Linked DNA regions of Homo sapiens: region 2 is linked to region 1. The links are contacts of gene promoters, found by promoter capture Hi-C in blood cells and fetal thymus (Javierre and others, 2016). All regions are on one chromosome and are shown on one strand. The core of a region is centred on a gene start or on the middle of the fragment in contact, and the rest is flanking DNA. Distances in the headings are between cores, read along the strand shown. Region 1 holds the start of SLC61A1 (solute carrier family 61 member 1). Region 2 overlaps RARG (retinoic acid receptor gamma).

Region 1 (4,970 bases), core at 2,440-4,939:
CTTCAAGAGATCCTCCCACCTCAACCTCCTAAAGTGCTAGGGTTACAGATATGAGCCACCAAGCCTAGCAGAAATCATGATTTATTTATTTATTTATTTATTTGAGACAGAGTCTCACTCTGTTGCCCAAGCTGGAGTGCAGTGATGCGATCTTGGCTCACTGCAACCTCCACCTCCCGAGTTCAAATGATTCTCCTGCCTCAGCCACCTGAGTAGCTGGGATTACAGGCATGCACCACCATGGCCCGGCTATTTTTTTTGTATTTTTTGTAGAGATGGGGTTTTGCCATGTTGGCCAGGCTGGTCTTGAACTCCTGGCTTCAAGAGTTCCGCCCACCTTGGCCTCCCAAAGTGCTGGGATTACAGGCGCAAGCCACCACCCCTGGTCAGAAATCATGATTTTCTATCTTAGTGTTTCTAGATGAAAGCATGGGAACCATCACCCCTTTCTACTTTCCACTAGTTTGCCAGCTAGGGATGAAAGCGCTTTGGAACTTGTAGGGCGTAAATCAGCTGTTTTATCATAAGAAAGTATTTCTCCAGGCTGGACACGGTGGCTCATGCCTGTAATCCCAGCACTTTGGGAGGCCAAGGAGGGTGGAACCCTTAAGGCCAGAAGTTCAAGACTTTTTTGGGACAGGGTCTCACTCTGTCCCCCAGGCTGGAGTGCAGTGGCATGATCTCGGCTCACTGCAACCTCTGCCTCCTGAGTTCAAGAGATTCTCCTGCCTCAGCCTCCCAAGTAGCTGGGATTACAGGTGTGTGCCACTATCGCCCAGCTTTTTGTATTTTTAGTAGTGATGGGGTTTCACCATGTTGGCCAGGCTGGTCTGGAACTCCTGACTTCAAATAATCCACCCACATTGGCCTCCCAAAGTGCTCGGATTACAGGCGTAAGCCACCATGCCTGGCCAAAAGAAAGTATTTCTCCAGATGTAATCCCAAACCCTCCTACCCTACCTCTAAGCTTTAGTATAAAAAAAAAAAAAAACCAACAGGCCGGGCGCGGATCCCCTAAGGTTGGGAGTTCGAGACCAGCCTGACCAACGTGGAGAAACCCTGTCTCTAAAAAATACAAAATTAGCTGGGGGTGGTGGCGCATGCCTGTAATCCCAGCTACTTGGGAGGCTGAGACAGGAGAATCGCTTGAACCCGGGAGCCGGAGGTTGCAGTGAGCTGAGATCACGCCATTGCACTCCAGCCTGGGCAACAAGAGTGAAACTCCGTCTCAAATAAAAAAAAAAAAAGACTGATCTGCTGCGCAAGTAGGTGAACTAGTATAATTGCAGAAACTATGTGAGCTTGGAACTGGAAAGATTGGGTCCTGCTTCTAACTGCCTTTTACTATGTAACTCTAAACATGTTACCTAACCTTTCCAACTCTGGTTAGTACCTACTGTATGGATTGTTGTCAGTCAGATGAGATAATTCACCTACAGCAGTTGGACTAAACCTTCTTAAAACTCCTTAGGTACATAATAACTGATAAGTGTTATTATGTTAATATGGGCCAGTACTTTTGATAGTAATTTACATAACTTATTCATTTATTCATAGACTATTTATGGAATATTTATGATTAATACTTATCAATGACTGCTTTAAGTATAGGGAATACAGGTGAACAAAACAGATAAAAATCTGTAGGGAAAGAGATAGTAAATATTTACTTATTTACTTAGAGACGAAGTCTTGCTCTGTCCCCTAGGCTGGAGTGCAGTGGTGTAATCTTGGCTCACTGCAGCCTCCGCTTCCCAGGTTCAAGCAATTCTCGTACCTCAGCCTCCTGAGTAGGTGGGATTACAAGCGCGCACCACCAGGCCCAGCTAATTTTTTTGTTTATTTGTTTTGAGACGGAGTCTTGCTCTGTTGCCCAGGCTGGAGTGCAGTGGTGCAATCTCGGCTTACCGCAACCTCTGCCTCCCAGGTTGAAGCAATTCTCCTGCCTCAGCCTCCAAAGTAGCTGGGATTACAGGTGCACACCACCATGCCCAGCAAATTTTTTTGTAATTTTAGTAGAGACGGGGTTTCGCCATATTGGCCAGGCTAGTCTTGAACTCCTGACCTCATGATACGCCCGCCTCGGCCTCCCAAAGTGCTGGGATTACAGGTGTGAGCCACCGCGCCCAGCAATTTTTTGTATTATTAGTAGGCATGGGGTTTCGACATGTTGGCCAGACTGGTCTTAAATTCCTGGCCTCAAGTGATTCACCCACCTTGGCCTCTCAAAGTGTTGAGATTACAGGTGTGAGCCACCACACCTGGCCAAGATAGTAAATAAATAAACAAGGAAAATACATAGTGTACTGCAGAGTAAAAGCAGCAGAGAGAATAGAAAATTGGAAGGAAAGTAGGTAGATTACTGTGCTGGAGGTGGTGGTGTTGCTATTTTAAACAGGAGGGCCATGGAAGGCCCCTCTGATCAGGTGACATTTTTTAAAATTTTATTTTATTTTTTATTTTTTTGTGAGACAGAGTCTCGCTCTGTCACCCAGACTGGAGTGCAGTGGCGTGATCTTGGCTCACTGCAACCTCTGCCTCCCTGGTTCAAGCGATTCTCCTGCCTCAGCCTCCCGAGTAGGTGGGATTACAGGTGCCCACCACCATGCCTGGCTAATTTTTATATTTTTTTACTAGCGACGGGGTTTCACCATGTTGGCCAGGCTGATCTTGAACTCCTGACCTCAACTGATCGGCCTGCCTCAGCCTCCTAAACTGCTGGGATTACAGGAATGAGCCACCAGGCCCAGCCAAGATCAGGTGACATTTGAACAGAGAACTGGAGGAGGTGGGGGGGGGAACCACGTGGATATCTTGGAGAAGAACTGTACAGGGAACAGTGTGCAAAAGCCCTGGTGGTAGCCAACATAGATGGGAGGGAGAGGAGCAGGGGATGAAGTCAGAGGAGTGGCAGAGGGTCAGAGGACAGAGGGTCTTGTAGGCCATTATAAATACTTCGGCTTTTACCCTTAGTGAGATGGGAAGTCATTGGAGGCTCTTGAGGAGATGATACGGAAGCTGTAGAGAGGTTAAATAGTTTTTCCAAGGTAAAACAGCTTGTAAGTGGCAGAAGGTAGGGAATTAAGCTCCAAGGCTGAAGTTCTTAACCCCATGCTGCCACTGAACTTTAGCCTTCTTTATTTGGGCATTGCTATCCTGTGACTTCAAAGAAACTGGGACACTGGGAAGTTATGCGGCTTGCCCAAGGCCACACAGCTGGTAAGTGACAGGGGCAGGACTGCGCCTTAGTCTGTCTGCAGCCCGACTCCAAGTTCTTTACACCACACCGCCTCCCTCAGGTGTCTGGACCATACTGGCTTCTCTTGCATGGAGGTCACTGCAGTGGGAGAGGAGGCAAACCAAGGAGACCTTCTCGGCTTCGGGCAGCGGTGCTGTTCCTTAGGAAGCTCCAACCCTTGGCTCTACCGGACTGCGGGCATCTTTCCCGAGCACTGCACGGAAGAAAAGAAAATTGGCACTTATTTCAGGGTGGCCCCTCAGGCATCCAAGAGCCAGAGGAGCAGGTGTCACGGGATGGCAGCGAGCGAGGCCAGGCCAGGAGAAGCAACCGCAGCCTCCTATGGTCGCCCCTTCCCGACCCACCCCAGGCGTCAGGAGTTCCGCGCCCGGGTAAGGGAAGGAGGGCGGGCGGGCGGGGCGGGGCGGGGTTTTGGCGCCGCGCCCCCGTCACGTGATGAAGCCATCATGGCGGCGGCCAGAGGCCTGCCCGGCTCCCGGAAGCAGGCTGTGAGGGGCGGGAGCGCTGCTGGAACCCGAGCCGGAGCCGGAGCCACAGCGGGGAGGGTGGCCTGGCGGCCTGGAGCCGGACGTGTCCGGGGCGTCCCCGCAGACCGGGGCAGCAGGTGAGGCGGAGTCTGGGCGAGGTGCAAGTGGATGTGGCAGGGCTGGGCAGGGGCTAGGGGGCGCAGTGGGGTGCCAGTGACCTGGAGGAGTGGGCCTCTGAGATGCACACGCATGACCCTGAAGCAACTCGAGAGGCCTGCGCGGGTGGGAGGGATGCCCGGGACAGAGGATGAGACACTGAGGGCAAAAAGAGGCTCCGCAGCGAGGACGGGAGGTAATAGAAGGAAGTGTACGGGAGCTGCTGTGGGAAAGGGCAGTAGAATTTGCGGGAGCGGGATTATTGAAAGGGACTCCCTCTTCACAGGCAAGGATGGGTTGAGTGCCCAGTCCTCTCCCCTGTCTTCTTACCCCTCCCTGCCCCACAGTGTCCTAGGAGACAGCTTTGGCGTGGCCACTCCTCCCACCCACCCAACTGGTCCCTCCGGTCTGAGATCTTGGGGAGTGGAGTTGGCAGCGGGGTTGGGTGGAGCTGCCATCTGCTTAAGACAGCCCCTTGACCGTGCTGCCCGAAGGATGGATATGGCTCTGACTCCCACCTCTCTTCCCAGGTCGTCCGGGGGCCCACCATGCTGGTGACTGCCTACCTTGCTTTTGTAGGCCTCCTGGCCTCCTGCCTGGGGCTGGAACTGTCAAGATGCCGGGCTAAACCCCCTGGAAGGGCCTGCAGCAATCCCTCCTTCCTTCGGTTTCAACTGGACTTCTATCAGGTCTACTTCCTGGCCCTGGCAGCTGATTGGCTTCAGGCCCCCTACCTCTATAAACTCTACCAGCATTACTACTTCCTGGAAGGTCAAATTGCCATCCTCTATGTCTGTGGCCTTGCCTCTACAGTCCTCTTTGGCCTAGTGGCCTCCTCCCTTGTGGATTGGCTGGGTCGCAAGAATTCTTGTGTCCTCTTCTCCCTGACTTACTCACTATGCTGCTTAACCAAACTCTCTCAAGACTACTTTGTGCTGCTAGTGGGGCGAGCACTTGGTGGGCTGTCCACAGCCCTGCTCTTCTCAGCCTTCGAGGCCTGGTATATCCATGAGCACGTGGAACGGCATGACTTCCCTGCTGAGTGGATCCCAGCTACCTTTGCTCGAGCTGCCTTCTGGAACCATGTG
Region 2 (4,522 bases), core at 1,072-3,571, 37 kb before region 1:
TACAGGTTTTTTTTGTTGTGTTGTTGTTGTTGTTGTTGTTTTAGAGGCAGGGTCTTGCTGGGTTACCCAGGCTGGACTGCAGTGGCTATTCACAGGTACAATCATAGCTCACTGCAGCTTCCAACTTCTGGCCTCAACTGATCTTTCTGCCTCAGCCTCCTGAGTAGCTGGAACTACAGATGTGCACCATGGTGCCTGGCTTTACATTGTATATTAACTAATTTAGTCCTCAAGACAGCGTTACAAGGTACGTGAAGAATAGCCCAGTTTACAAACAAGATTAAAAAAGTAAAGCAATTTGCCCAAGACTTTGTCTCTAAATATATATATACACACACACACACACACACACACACACACACACACACACACATACTTGGAATTGTGCTGAATTAAAAATTCAATTCTGCAGTTGCAGTAGTCACATTTCAGATGCTTAATAGCCACATGTGGCTAATGACTATTGTATTCCCATCATTGCAGAAAGTTCTACTGGACAGTACTGGTTTAGAAGCAATTTGCCCAAAGTCTCCCACTACTATGTGGCAGAGCTAGGATTCCAGTGTAGATTGCCTGGTTCTCAACTACTCTGTTCTTGTCTCTGTGTGTCCTCCTGTCCGACCTGGGAGACCAACAGCCCTGGGAAGACAGAGAGGGGACACCCACTCATGACTCACCCTTAGTGCTGATGCCCCGGAGGTCGGTGATTTTCATTAGCATCCTTGGGAACATGTAGGGCTGGCTGGGCCGCCGGCGCCGGGCGTACAGCCTCAGGGCTTCCAGCAGTGGCTCCTGCAGCTTGTCCACTTTTTCGGGCTCCTCCAGGTCCATGCGGTCTATGGGGACAAGTATACTGGAGTGAGAGGGGAAGGAAGAGATGGGGAAGACACAGTGACAGATGGCTGATCACCAACCGGCGTTTTGGGAAGCCTGTACAGGGTTTCAGAACTCTCTGGATGGGGCCAGGTGCAAGAATTACCAGCAGAAGAGACCACTGGGTCCTCCACGCCCCCTCCCAGACAGATTCCGCATGGAGTGGTGGGAAAGGAGACTGAGCACTGAGCAGACGCCAGGGGGCGCCCCCGCACCTCCGCAGATGAGGCAGATGGCGCTGAGCAGCCCTGTCTCGGTGTCATCCATCTCCAGGGGCAGGAGCTGCCCAGCAAAGGCAAAGACAAGGTCTGTGAGGGGCCCGAAGCCGGCATTGTGCATCTGGGTCCGGTTCAGGGTCAGCCCGTCGGAGAAGGTCATGGTGTCCTGCTCTGGGGTGTACCTTGTGCAGATACGCAGCATCTGGAGGTGGGGGGTGGAGGAGGGTTAGTGCTGTTTCTGGGGGATGGGGAAAAGAGGGAATGAGTGGAAAGTGAGGAGGTTAGGTCCCCAGTGAGTGCAACCTGAAGCAGGCATGGAGAAGGCAGAGGTGGAGGATCTGAGGCTTGGCAGGGGTAGTCCCGGGAAGTCAGGAGGAGACAGGGCATCCAAAAGTCTAGGATCAGGTCATAGGGGCAGAGGCTAAGACGAAAAGAGAGCTGAGGAGTCCCACATGTGTGGCAGGGGGTGCAGGGTAAGGAAATCTTTGCATGGATCAAGGAATTGTTGAGGGTCCCATATGTGGGTCGGGCTGTGGCAGGACCCACAGGGCCTAACTTACCAGGATATCTAGGCAGGCAGCTTTGAGCAGAGTGATCTGGTCAGCAATGCTGAGCCCTGTAAAGCCAGGCAACCGCTTGGCAAACTCCACGATCTTGATGATGCACTTGGTAGCCAGCTCACTGAACTTGTCCCACAGCCCCAGATCCAGCTGCACGCGGTGGTCTGCACTGGAGTTCTGCAGAGGGGAGGGGTAGAAGGTTGGAAGGCAAGCTAAGGCCCACCTCTGGGGGCTGTCTTCTCTCTACCAATATCCCAAGCTCTCTCCTCTGCATTCTGATGCCCTCCTTGTCCTCAGCACCAGTCGATGATAGCCTCCAACACAACCCAGCCCCATTCCCCAAAGTGAAGAGTGCCCTGCCCTCACTGGGCTCTGCCCATTCCTCACCGTGGTATACTTGCCCAGCTGGCAGAGCGAGGGGAAAGTCTCCTGATGGGCTTTGCTGACCTTGGTGATGAGCTCTTCTAACTGAGGGCTCAGCTCATAGCTGTCAGGTGACCCTTCTTCCTTCACCTCTTTCTTCTTCTTGTTCCGGTCATTTCGCACAGCTTGTGGGTGGAGGCGCAAGGAGAGGGTCAGGACCCTCAGAGCCTCCCTTTGGGTGTCCTCTCTCACCCTAATTTAATATGCTCAGTCCTTATCATGAATATCTATTCTCTGGCACTGTAATTACTGCCTCAGTTTCCCTATCACCTATAATAGCTCCTATTCCCAGGCTGGTTCTCCCCAGCCCCACCCAGGGCCTGCAGCCCCTGCTCCTTCCCCAGGCCATTCGGCTCCATCCTGTCCTTCCTGTCACCCTGCAGGAGCTGGGGGAGGGGGGGCAGGATATGCAGGCGGCAGGATATCCACTTATAGCCTTGGCAGCACAATGGGGGCGAGGGGGGGGTGGAGAGGAGGAGCCACCCCATATCCATCTCTGGCTCAGTCCAGGGGAGGGAAAGGGACTGGCAAGCCCACTGGCTTCATTTCCCCCATGAAACAGGGGGAATGTGAGACCCTACTTATTCACCCATTCAGAGGAAGAGTCAAGCTCCCTGAGAGGGAGAATGGGAAATGGTGGGGCCTCCTGGTTGAATGGAGCTAATCAAATAAGACTGGCCTGGGAGAAGGCAGCACCCCAGGGCAGGCCAAGTCTCAGAGGTCAGGGAAGTGGGAGTGGCCAGAGGAAAGAGGGCCACAGCCATAGGGTAGGACCGAAGTGCTCCTGCCCAAGCCAAGGATGGCAGCCTACCTTCCTTGGACATGCCCACTTCGAAGCACTTCTGTAGCCGGCAGTACTGGCAGCGATTCCTGGTCACCTTGTTGATGATACAGTTTTTGTCGCGGTGACACGTGTACACCATGTTCTTCTGGATGCTTCGGCGAAAGAAGCCCTGGAGTTGAGGGAAAGAGAGAGGGCCTCTGAAGCACAATGCTGGGAGTACCAGCCTCTCACTGGCCTTGCAGGTTGCCCCAAGCCTGACCTAATCTATTAACCACCTATGTGCAAAGCAGTGCTGCTCAGACACAGCATCTGTGTGCCTGGTCTCTCATCTTACTAGGGTAACTGGATCCCCCGTCTGCCCACTCCCACCACGTACACACCTTGCAGCCTTCACAAGAGCTGACCCCATAGTGGTAGCCAGAGGACTTGTCATTGCACACGAAGCATGGCTTGTAGACCCGAGGAGGCGGAGGGGGCGAGGGCGAGCTGGGCACCATCTCCTCTGAGCTGGTGCTCTGTGTCTCCACCGCTGGGAGGGAAGCAGTGATGTGAGGGTCAGGGGAGAAGGACCCCACAGACCTCCAGGCTTCCTCATCACACACACCCCATGTGCATTTGTTCCTTGGCCCACTGGTGACAGCCATCACTACCACAGTGCACTAGTTCCAGCAGTAAGCACTGTCAGAATCCTCTTAATGACCACTATTACCACAGCTTGTTGTGACCCTAGTTCACCCTCTACCCTCCACAGTCTAACCAACTTGTTCACAAGAATGCCAGCCCTCATCCTATATGACATGTTTAATCCTCCAAATTCCAGACCAAGGCCATTCCGGAAATTGACTTCTCTGGGCCTGTTTCCCTAACTATCCAGGAGGTGGGTAGAAGAGTTAAAGCCCTGCAGCTCTGAGCTCTCTAGTCACTCTCTGTCTCTTTGGTATATCTTTGTCAGGTAGTCTACTTCCCACTGTCCTCCCTGTGGGGCAATAACTCTGGGGGCAGGTAGGCAATGACAGGCTTCCTGTAGCTGCTACTGGCCAAATGACCTGCTGGGATGCTTAGCAGGTAAACCAGGACCTCATTTCCTTTCCAGTAGTACAGGGGGGATAACTCCTCAGGCTTATCTCTCTCACACTACCCCTGAATAACCATCAGAGACAGTGGAGCAAATGGGGCAAAGGTCTCAGGGGAGTGAGTGAGAGGATGCACCACAGCCTTGGTTCACGCCTGAAGAAACTGAGGCCACGAGAGGGGAAGTGACCAGCTCAGTGCCACACCACCAGCAGATCCAAGTGGCTGTGAGTCAGAGAAGCTGGGGAAGCAGAGGCTGAGGTGTTTGCTCAGTTTCTCAGGTCTGGAAGCCGTTGGAGGTGTAGCAAACTGGAGAAGTCAGGTGACAGTAGGTAAACAGGACTGATGGGGGAGGGAACCTGTTTCTGGACCCTCTCTGAGCTTATGTCTTCACTCTGAAAATACCCAATTGCAGCTCAAAAGGGGTCTCAGCCCCACAGTATGGGGAGGACATGCTCTGCTCTGTTCAAAAGGCTGCTGGGTAAGTGTGTGTGTGTGTGTGTGTGCGCGCGCGCGCGCGCGCGCGTGTGGTTGGTCTTCAGAGGCTCGGAAAATTTGTAAATTATTCAACCTGTAGGACCTGTTGCCCAAAC

What was found. The method cuts DNA at HindIII sites, captures the fragments that hold promoters and counts their contacts. A CHiCAGO score of 5 or more calls a contact.
Region 2: a fragment that was not itself captured here is called in contact with the fragment with the promoter of SLC61A1 in region 1 in 7 of 17 cell types (activated CD4 T cells, naive CD8 T cells, total CD8 T cells and 4 more); the score reaches 7.3 in activated CD4 T cells.

The regions. Positions count from the first base shown.
Region 1 is chr12:53,248,406-53,253,375 of GRCh38, forward strand. It overlaps SLC61A1 (solute carrier family 61 member 1), which reads left to right and starts at 3,690. Exons shown (of 2, transcript NM_032889.5): 1 at 3,690-3,863; 2 at 4,413-4,970. The coding sequence starts at 4,431. RefSeq lists enhancers at 3,353-3,402, 3,536-4,207 and silencers at 3,673-3,952, 3,963-4,012. The HindIII fragment of the contact is 5,764 bases long and covers 966-4,970 here.
Region 2 is chr12:53,212,408-53,216,929 of GRCh38, forward strand. RARG (retinoic acid receptor gamma) reads right to left here. Exons shown (of 10, transcript NM_000966.6): 4 at 3,239-3,387; 5 at 2,886-3,027; 6 at 2,039-2,199; 7 at 1,652-1,828; 8 at 1,089-1,293; 9 at 678-836. Among named protein-coding and RNA genes, the nearest start is that of ITGB7, 7.4 kb to the left of the region's middle. RefSeq lists enhancers at 2,872-3,645, 3,860-4,473. The HindIII fragment of the contact is 8,479 bases long and covers 1-4,522 here.